Linked DNA regions of Homo sapiens: region 2 is linked to region 1. Evidence: promoter capture Hi-C in human tissues and cell types (Jung and others, 2019). All regions are on one chromosome and are shown on one strand. Each heading gives the region's core, a stretch centred on a gene start or on the middle of the fragment in contact. The rest is flanking DNA. Distances are from core to core; before and after follow the strand shown.

What was found. Contacts are between HindIII fragments. The study calls those that stand out against the background at their distance.
Region 2: a fragment that was not itself captured here is called in contact with the fragment with the promoter of TNFRSF10D in region 1 in 3 of the 25 tissues and cell types used here (IMR-90 fibroblasts, adrenal gland and spleen).

Annotation. Positions count from the first base shown.
Region 1 is chr8:23,161,904-23,166,378 of GRCh38, reverse strand. TNFRSF10D (TNF receptor superfamily member 10d) reads left to right here and starts at 2,352. Exons shown (of 9, transcript NM_003840.5): 1 at 2,352-2,593. The coding sequence starts at 2,444. RefSeq lists an enhancer at 2,495-2,614. The HindIII fragment of the contact is 7,003 bases long and covers 1-4,461 here.
Region 2 is chr8:23,425,422-23,429,896 of GRCh38, reverse strand. ENTPD4 (ectonucleoside triphosphate diphosphohydrolase 4) reads left to right here. Exons shown (of 13, transcript NM_004901.5): 13 at 1-735. Among named protein-coding and RNA genes, the nearest start is that of LOXL2, 24 kb to the right of the region's middle. The HindIII fragment of the contact is 3,070 bases long and covers 518-3,587 here.

The DNA of each region.
Region 1 (4,475 bases), core at 1,103-3,602:
GAGGCAGAGGTTGCAGTGAGCCTGGATCGTGCTGCACTCCAACCTGGCAACAGAGTGAGACTCCATCTCAAAAAAAAAAAATCCATTTTGTAATAGAACTCTTCTGGGACTGGCCTCCCCGTTAGAGCTTTTCCAAGATTCCTGAAGACATCATCAGTTTTTCAGGTTTCAAGATTATTTTATGTCCTTCAGTGACAGGGGAGACTTCAGTTAGTGTTCCATCTCAAGCTAGTAAGTGCCTCTTAAGTGGAAACTTGACTCTAAAGGCCCAGTTCCTTGGAGGTGCTCACAGCCTTTTGCCATTAGCCCTAGTCAGTGCTCCACACAGGGCACAGAGAATGCGTTGTTACCTGCAGTCTGGTTTCTGGTCTATACTGTGTGGTCCACCCTCCAGGGCCAAGGGAGCTAAGGTGCTCTAAGGACTTTCCTGCAGGCCCTGGTGGCTCTGTGTTAATGCTGTCAGTCTTCCTGAAGTCCCTGACCTTTCACCTCCTGCCTGGATCTGCACCCCGCACACATTCCTGACCCCACACATTTCTCATTGCCTGGGTCCTGGCACACATTTCTGACCCTAGCTCAGTGTCTGGGGCCTGGCACACATTTCCGACCCTAGCTCAGTGCCTGGGGCCTGACACACATTTCTGACCCTAGCTCAGTGCCTGGGGCCTGACACACATTTCTGAGTCTAGCTCAGTGCCTGGAACCTGGCACACATTTCTGACCCTAGCTCAGTGCCTGGAACCTGGCGCACATTTCTGACCCTAGCTCAGTGCCTGGGGCCTGACACACATTTCTGACCCTAGCTCAGTGCCTGGGGCCTGACACACATTTCTGAGTCTAGCTCAGTGCCTGAAACCTGGCGCACATTTCTGACCCTAGCTCAGTGCCTGGGACCTGGCACACATTTTTTTTTCTTTTTTTTTTTTTTCACAGAGTCTCGCTCTGTCACCCAGACTGGAGTGCAGTGGCACGAATCTCGGCTCACTGCAACCTCCATTTCCTGGGTTCAAGCAATTCTCCTGCCTCAGCTTCCTGAGTAGCTGGGATTACAAGTGCCCGCCACCACGCCCAGCTAATTTTTGTATTTTTAGTAGAGATGGGGTTTAACTATGTTGGCCAGGCTGGTCTCGAACTCCTGACCTCTTGATTCGCCCACCTCAGCCTCTCAAAGTGCTGGGACTACAAGCGTGAGCAACCGCGCCCGGCCCTGGCTCACATTTCTGACCCTAGGTCATTGTCTGGGCCCTGGAAGGTGCTCAGGGTGATCCATCGCTCAAATCCAAGCCTGTGGAGAGGATGACATTTCATTCCCAGGTTTCTCATGAGCCAAAAAACCTTCATTTCTATAGCGCTATCCTCTTCTATCTACCATGTGAGGGGTCAGGAGCCGACTCATCCCAAGGGTCTAGGAGTCCTGCCATTGACCTTACTGCTTAGGGTCACAAGCTGGCACCCTTCAAAACCACACATTGGGTCTGCCCTCACAGCGGCAGTGTGTTCAACTGGATGGGGAGGTAAGTAGCCCAAGGTCAGACAGTTGGACCTGGGTAGACAATAGACTTGGGGACAGACTTTGGAAGGCACTCCCCTGATTCCCCTGTCTCCATGGGGCCTCAATACTAGAGCCCTCAAGGTTGGTCAGGGAGTGTTTGTGCTTTGACCATGCAAAGGGTGCCAGGTTGTGGCTAGGGATGCCCCCGGCGTTCCTCTCCCTCCTACCTACTCCTCAGCCTCTGCAGGTGCCTGTCATGGCCTCTGTGTCCTTCATTCTGTCCACTCATGTGTTCACTGGGCCCCTCCTTGGTGCCAGGCACCCGCTACTGAGGGATACCAAGCCCCTGCCAGAGAAGCTTGGAGCTGGGTCACAGCAGCAAGGAGGCTGGAGACATCAGTGGCATCAGTGCACTGGTCAGTGAGGCCGCTGTGGGAGGAGGGAGTGGGAGCAGAAGCTAAGAGTGGACTGAAGTCCTGAGGCCAGGAAGTAGTTCAGGGTTTAAGAAGAGGAGAGACAGGCGGCCCGGGGAGGGAGCAGGCTCAGGATGGGCCTCCAGTGCCTCCTCTGGAGCTCACTACCCAGACTACAGCAGCGCAGCGGGCAGCGCCTCAGCTCCTTCCCCTTCTGCTGCCTACAGCCTGGACAGGACCCGGAATCAAACCGCAGGCCCTGGGTCACCGCTGCCGGAAAGAGCCAGTTCCTGTCCGTCCATGCACCCACCCACACAACCTGGGCCCTCCTGGAGGTGCTGGGGGAGACCCAGCCTGAGTGCCTGGAAGTGACTGCGGGAAGGGAGTACAACTGACCACGCCTTTTTTCCGGGGTATAAAAGCGGAGGAGCACGTTCTATTCTGGCAGTGTAGCTGCGAGAACCTTTGCACGCGCACAAACTACGGGGACGATTTCTGATTGATTTTTGGCGCTTTCGATCCACCCTCCTCCCTTCTCATGGGACTTTGGGGACAAAGCGTCCCGACCGCCTCGAGCGCTCGAGCAGGGCGCTATCCAGGAGCCAGGACAGCGTCGGGAACCAGACCATGGCTCCTGGACCCCAAGATCCTTAAGTTCGTCGTCTTCATCGTCGCGGTTCTGCTGCCGGTGAGTCTCCGCCGCGGTCCCTGGCTGGGGAAGAGCGCACCTGGCGCCGGGAGTGGGCAGGGAGAGAGGGGGACACGGTGGGGATGCTTGGCCCGGGTCGCCTGCGGCCGGGCATGTCTGGGCAGGACGAACCCGCCGTCGGAGTCAGGGGAAGAGTGGGGTGCCCGGGCTGGGCAGGAGCGACCGGGCCGCGAGGGAGCAGAGCGCGCGCTCCCCCTGGCTGTCCCGTGCGGCGAGGACCGCACTGAGCTGCCCCAGAGGAAGTTCCAGAATCAGCGGAGGGAGGGAGTCAAGATGGAAACCCCGGAGTGAACCTCAGGAAGCCACAGAGCGGTTGCCTCTTTCGTTCGTTCGTTCGTTCGTTCGTTCATAACGTTAACCCAGGCCGGTCGCGGTGGCTCACGCCTGTAATCCCAGCACGTTGGGAGGCCGAGGCGGGCGGATCACCTGAGGTCAGGAGTTGGAGACCAGCCTAGCCACCATGGTGAAACCCCGTCTCTACTAAAAATACAAAAATTAGCCGGACGTGATGGCGGTCGCCTGTAATCCCAGCTACTCGGGAGGCTGAGGCAGAAGGAGAATCACTTGAATCCGGGAGGCGGAGGTTGCAGTGAGCCGAGATCGCGCCATCGCACTCCAGCCTGGTCAACAAGAGCGAGACTCCGTCTCAAAAAAAAAAAAAAAAAAAAAAAAAAAGTTAGCCAGGCGTGGCAGCCTGCGCCTGTAGTCCCAGCTACTCAGGAGGCTGAGGCAGGAGAACTGCTTGAACCCGGGAGGCAGAGGTTGCAGTGAGCCGAGATTGCACCACTGCACTCCAGCCTGGGCGACAGAGCGAGACTCTGCCTTAACAAAAACAGACAAACAAACAAACAAAATTAACCCTATGTTTACACTGTTACACGTGTTTCTTGGAGATCAGTTTAACAAACAGCCTGTGAAAAAGCTTTCCAACGCTGTTTTTTGTAACTTTCATTTCCTATAGAACCCTGAAAGTGGCAGGAAGCGGTTAACCAAGGTGCTTGCAGTCAGTGTCTTCCACTGCCACCCGTGTGTCCCCTCTGTATCCCATAGGCAGGACCGCGGGATGGCCCCTTCCTTAGGCATAAAAGATGTAAAGTTCTCGTTGTGAGTTGGGTTTGGAAACTGAGATTGGTAGTGGGGTGCACAAGAAGGACATAAAAATAAGATGTGCAGACTGCCAGGACTTTTTCTGAGTGACTGACGTTTCTGCCAACAGTGCTTTCTAAGGTTTCTTACGTAATACCAAAAAACAAAACGGGGAGGATAAAACAAGATTACATGAACCATGAGAGTCTCCATGTTTTCTTTCAACGAAGTAATACTAAATTCAGAACAGCAGTGACATTTTCACCTCTCAAAAATTACACAACTGACTTCTACAATAGTTTATAGTGGGTGGACCTACCTGAGGCAGCTAGAAGAATGGCTGTGTCAGGACAGTGGCCCTGAAGAGAGAATGTGTGGATGACCTGTGTAGACAAGACCAGCAACCTGAATTTCACAGTTTTGGGAATGTGAACTCTATGCGTCCCAAAGGAGGCTTTGATCCCTCCATCAATCTTGCCTTATTAAATGCATTTCAATGCACAGTTGCTTTTTAAAATTTTGGAGCTAGCACAAATCACATTAGATGTTTTATGGCAGTACATTCAGATTGATTTTCTTTTAAACAAGGGTATTGTATTTTACTACATGGGTAAGCCACAGGTTAATTCACTGTTGCCATCTAGAGGCAGCTGGTTATATCCCATCCCGATGGGATATAACCCAAAGCAAATTTGCCTTTGCTAATTCCAACAGCATTGTACTAAATACCCTTGTATGTATCGTGTGTCCACATGTCCATGCGCACCAGCTTATT
Region 2 (4,475 bases), core at 803-3,302, 260 kb before region 1:
TTTCACAATCCCTCTGGGGACATTACAGTAGAAGAGAAACACATGGAACTGTACCAGTGCTTTTTGCCCATGTTCATCCTAAGCTCCGGCTTTAGGCAGTGCTTTCTGACCTGGGCGGAGTGAAGACGCTGCTGGTGGCTGAGGCCAGTAACATGGGGCCCCTGCCCAGCCACCCTGAAGGCTGGGTAGGTCCCTCTTTTCACCACCAGTTTTCCACATCTGTGTACTCTAGATTAACAAACTCTGGATAAACAGATATTTACATTTTAAACTCAGGCCTACACAGAGTAGTTTTCCTTATAAGGAGCATGTATCACTTAGCAAGAAACTAAAAATGGCAAATGAGTTTTTCATCCTTTAAGAAAAAAATCAGCTTTAGAATTCTCTGCGGTCAGTTGTGTGCAATGCAACAAAACTACCTTTCAGTAAATTACTTAGTTATTTATTTCAGTGTTTTGTTTCTTTTGATACTAAGTTTCCCTTTCAATAATGAATGATGTGACCAACCAAGGAGAATTTGTTTGTTCTGTACTAAAATTATATTTTACAGTTAGGAATTATAAAAAGCAAGGGAGCATCTTTAAATGTTTTTTGTTTAAGCGATGTCTTCCATCCAAAGTAAGAATAATACTCTCGGAAGGTCCTTTTGGTGTCATGTCACTTGCTGTATGTGGCAGCCTTACAGTGCCACACTTGGGTACTGAAAAATCAATAAAACGAAAGTTCATCATCCCATGGCCCGTAGACTGTGTGGGCTTGCTTCCTTGTCATCTTTGAATCTTCTTACTCATTAGAATGATGAGTTGAACTTGAGTCCAAATTCAGTGAAATACATTGTCTGAGTCTGACGCACACTCTTTGCATGTGTTGTGTTGGGTGTGCATACAGTGAAGCACAATTGTGTGGGGTTGTGGAGAGGGCGTCCACACTCTCTGCAGCTCAGAAAGCAGATATTTCACAAGTAGTGACCAACCCACGACGTTAAGCCATTCACCAACAATAATTGCCACTCTGAGATGACTGTTTATAAGGTCACCATTTTAAGTACCTACTTGTATATAGACAAGGAAAAGTAATAAAATTAACCAATTTTTATGTATTTAATAGTAACAGCAAATGCTGACTTTATGTTACACTGTTTTGCAGTTCGATCTAAGCTTAGAACCTTTGGCTTACTTCCAGAAAATTATGACTGTCATTATTAATGTTACGTGTTACCAATATGGAGGATGACATTAGACGCTCAGCATGTTTCTCAGCCGTTGGAGAATACATAGATGTTCTCCTGGAGCAGGAAGGTGGGCCTGAGCCATAACCTGAAAATAGATGATAGAGACAGATGGGAAGGGAAGGGGACCAGCTGTTAGGACCAACAAAAATAAAGGCCTGAGACATGCCGGAGAGGAGAGGGAAGCGCAAAAACAAAATGAGAGAACAGAGCCAGCAAAGTGAGCTCAAGGGAGGTCCTCAAGCCATTGATCGCTAGGAAAACAGGACACAGCATTAAGATAGAACTGTCGTAAATAATTTTTGAGGCAGTGCAATGACTATAGGGCTTTTTGCCTGACTTTAAATACGTTAAAATATCTAAGATGTTAAAAGACATCTAAATTTTTATTCCACTTGGTGGAAGAGAAGTCAGTGCCTATTTCCAACACTAACCATGTTGACAGGTCTGAAAAGCCATGGTTCTGTGTTTTTGTTTTCAGTCTGTTTCCATTTGTCCTATGAATTGGCATGTGCCCTGTGGGTTTTTTTGGTTTTTTTGAGATCCGGAAATGCTAATGGTTTGCACAGAGGGGGTCGTGAGGTGCAGGTCACCTCTGTCAGAGTCACAGTGTCTTCTTTTGGAAACGTCATGAAAAGACAAAGGAGTGCCCGGCTAATCCCAAAGCACGCCTTGGCAGAGTGGATCTGCCTGGAGCATCCATCCGTGGCAGCATGAAAGGCAATCCTGTGAGAGTCTTCCTGGCCCCACCTCGTCTGGGAGCATGTGGGCCTGTGATCCCACCTCCTCCTAACAAAAGAAGAGTGTGTCTGTTGATGTGTTTTATTTTGCTTTTAGCCAGGCTAGTCCCCCTGCCCTTGCGCAGTCCAGCCTCTTTCTATTAATAGATCTATTAAGGTTGACTGAGACCTGCTGCAGGGGACGCTAGGGGCACTTTGGCCTTCGATCTTTGCCTTTCACCCTTGACACTGTTTGGCAGGTGAACGACATCCGGGCTCCAGACTTCATGGCCACTTCAACATTTCTGTCAACAGCCTGTGTCTGTTTCATGTAAGAGGCCCAAACAAGAAAATCAAGGCTTAAGAAGGATTTCTGCCTTGAGTAAAGGACTGAAACCTCCTCACAGAACACGATGGTGACAGGCACAAAAGACAGACTTCTTGTTTAAGTAGGTGAACTCCAAAGACGAGAGAAAAGGAGTTTTTTTCCTCCCGTTCAACCAGTCATCAAATAAACATCTCAGGCATCTGGTGTTTTGTCAAGGGATTGGGATTCCAGTGGCCCCTGTGTGACTGGAAGGGGAAAGGTTTGTCGGTGGCAACGCCATCGAAACACAAAGGAGCAGCTTTAGAATCCCCAGTGTGGGTCTTCTCTTGTGTTATTTCTACAACATCCTTGTGCCAGCTGTTCTTGCTGTTCTCTCAGGCTTCTAATTGGGAGTGTGAATACTACCTTTCACCCTTTTTGCCTTCATGAGAATCAGAGTTTGAAGTGGACAGTTCTGAAAATATTAATCATCTTTTTTTTTTTTTTTTTTTTTTTTTGAGACGGAGTCTCACTCTGTCGCCCAGGCTGGAGTGCAGTGGCGCGATCTCGGCTCACTGCAAGCTCCGCCTCCCGGGTTCACGCCATTCTCCTGCCTCAGCCTCCCTAGTAGCTGGGACTACAGGCGCCTGCCACCACACCCAGCTAATTTTTTGTATTTTTAATAGAGACGGGGTTTCACCGTGTTAGCCAGGATGGTCTCGATCTCCTGACCTCGTGATCCACCTGCCTCGGCCTCCCAAAGTGCTAGGATTACAGGCGTGAGTCACCGCACCGGGCCTAATCACCTTATTCTTGCCTGTCATTACACAAGCCTTAAACTCCAGGGACCAGACTTAGCACTTTCTTTTCCTAAGATTGCTTTTTCTCCCACTTGGCCCAAGCTTTAATACCCAGATTTTAGACTCAAAACACTTAAAACATTTGGTGGGCTCTCCTCAGCCTTGTAAAGTTCTTTGATACTGGTCATGGCAGCACAAGAGAATTTTCTGGAAGTTCCTGGCTGTTTAATGTTCAAATTACACGTTTAAATTCTCTCCCACCTCCCGTGGCCCTGTTTTCCATCAGTGTATCTATTTCTGGCCCAAATGTCCTTGAACATGGACCATGACAGGTCCTGTGTTTACTTTCCATGTTTCTACATTTATAATCCAGTAAAGAAGACACCGAGTAGTACATAGTATTTTGTAAATATTTGTAAACTAATGAAAATCTGGTTTCTTTCACAAATCACCTCTTTAGGTTTCTAAAATTTATGAAAGAAATCTTTTAAAATCTATTCTAGGCCGGGTGCAGTGGCTTACGCCTGTAATCCCAGCACTTTGAGAGGCCAAGGCAGGCGGATCACGAGGTCAGGAGTTTGAGACCAGCCTGGCCAACATAGTGAAACCCTGTCTCTACTAAAAATACAAAAATTAGCTGGGCAAGGTGGCGGGCGCCTGTAGTCCCAGCTACTCAGGAGGCTGAGGCAGGAGAATCACTTGAACCCAGGAGGCGGAGTTTGCAGTGAGCCAAGATTGTGCTACTGCACTCCAGTCTAGGCGACAGAGCAAGACTCTGTCTAAAATATATATATATTTTATTCTCAATTTTTGCTGTTCTTTCCAGATGTGCAGAGTTGTGTGTGGTTTTAAAACCATATGCAATGTGCCGTGAAGGGCGGGATGGAACCCAGGCCTCTGAGTCTCAGTTCTCTGTTCACTTCCCTCCACCAGAGTTTGTTAAGGGAGTGTTGCATTTTAAAGCTTTATTTAGAAAAACTTAGGAAAACCAAGTTTACCTCAAGTGGTTTCCTTTTTTCGCAACCTGTTCAGCCTTGACAGAAAGGAAAAAGAAATCCCAGAATTAGGTAGTAATAATAGAGGCAAAGTGAGATTGATATTTTCTGAAGCCCTGCTTACAGAAAATAATTCCTGCATATTTATTTTATTCTAAACATAGCTTCAGATTGTTTTTCATTCTAAGTTGTCCTTAAAAGTCACTTTTTAAACCTCACAAGAAGCACCAAATGTAAGGGGGAAAGGATGGATTTGACTACATCTAAAGTAAGACTTTCTGTTCATCAAAGCTAACAGATGGCAGACTAAGAAGGTATTTGCAGTGACTGAAATTGAAAAGGGATTAAAATGTACAAAGTTTCATGCAAAACAACAAGAAAAAGGAAATCCAAAAGAAAAAACCGGCCATGGATATTAATAGGTGA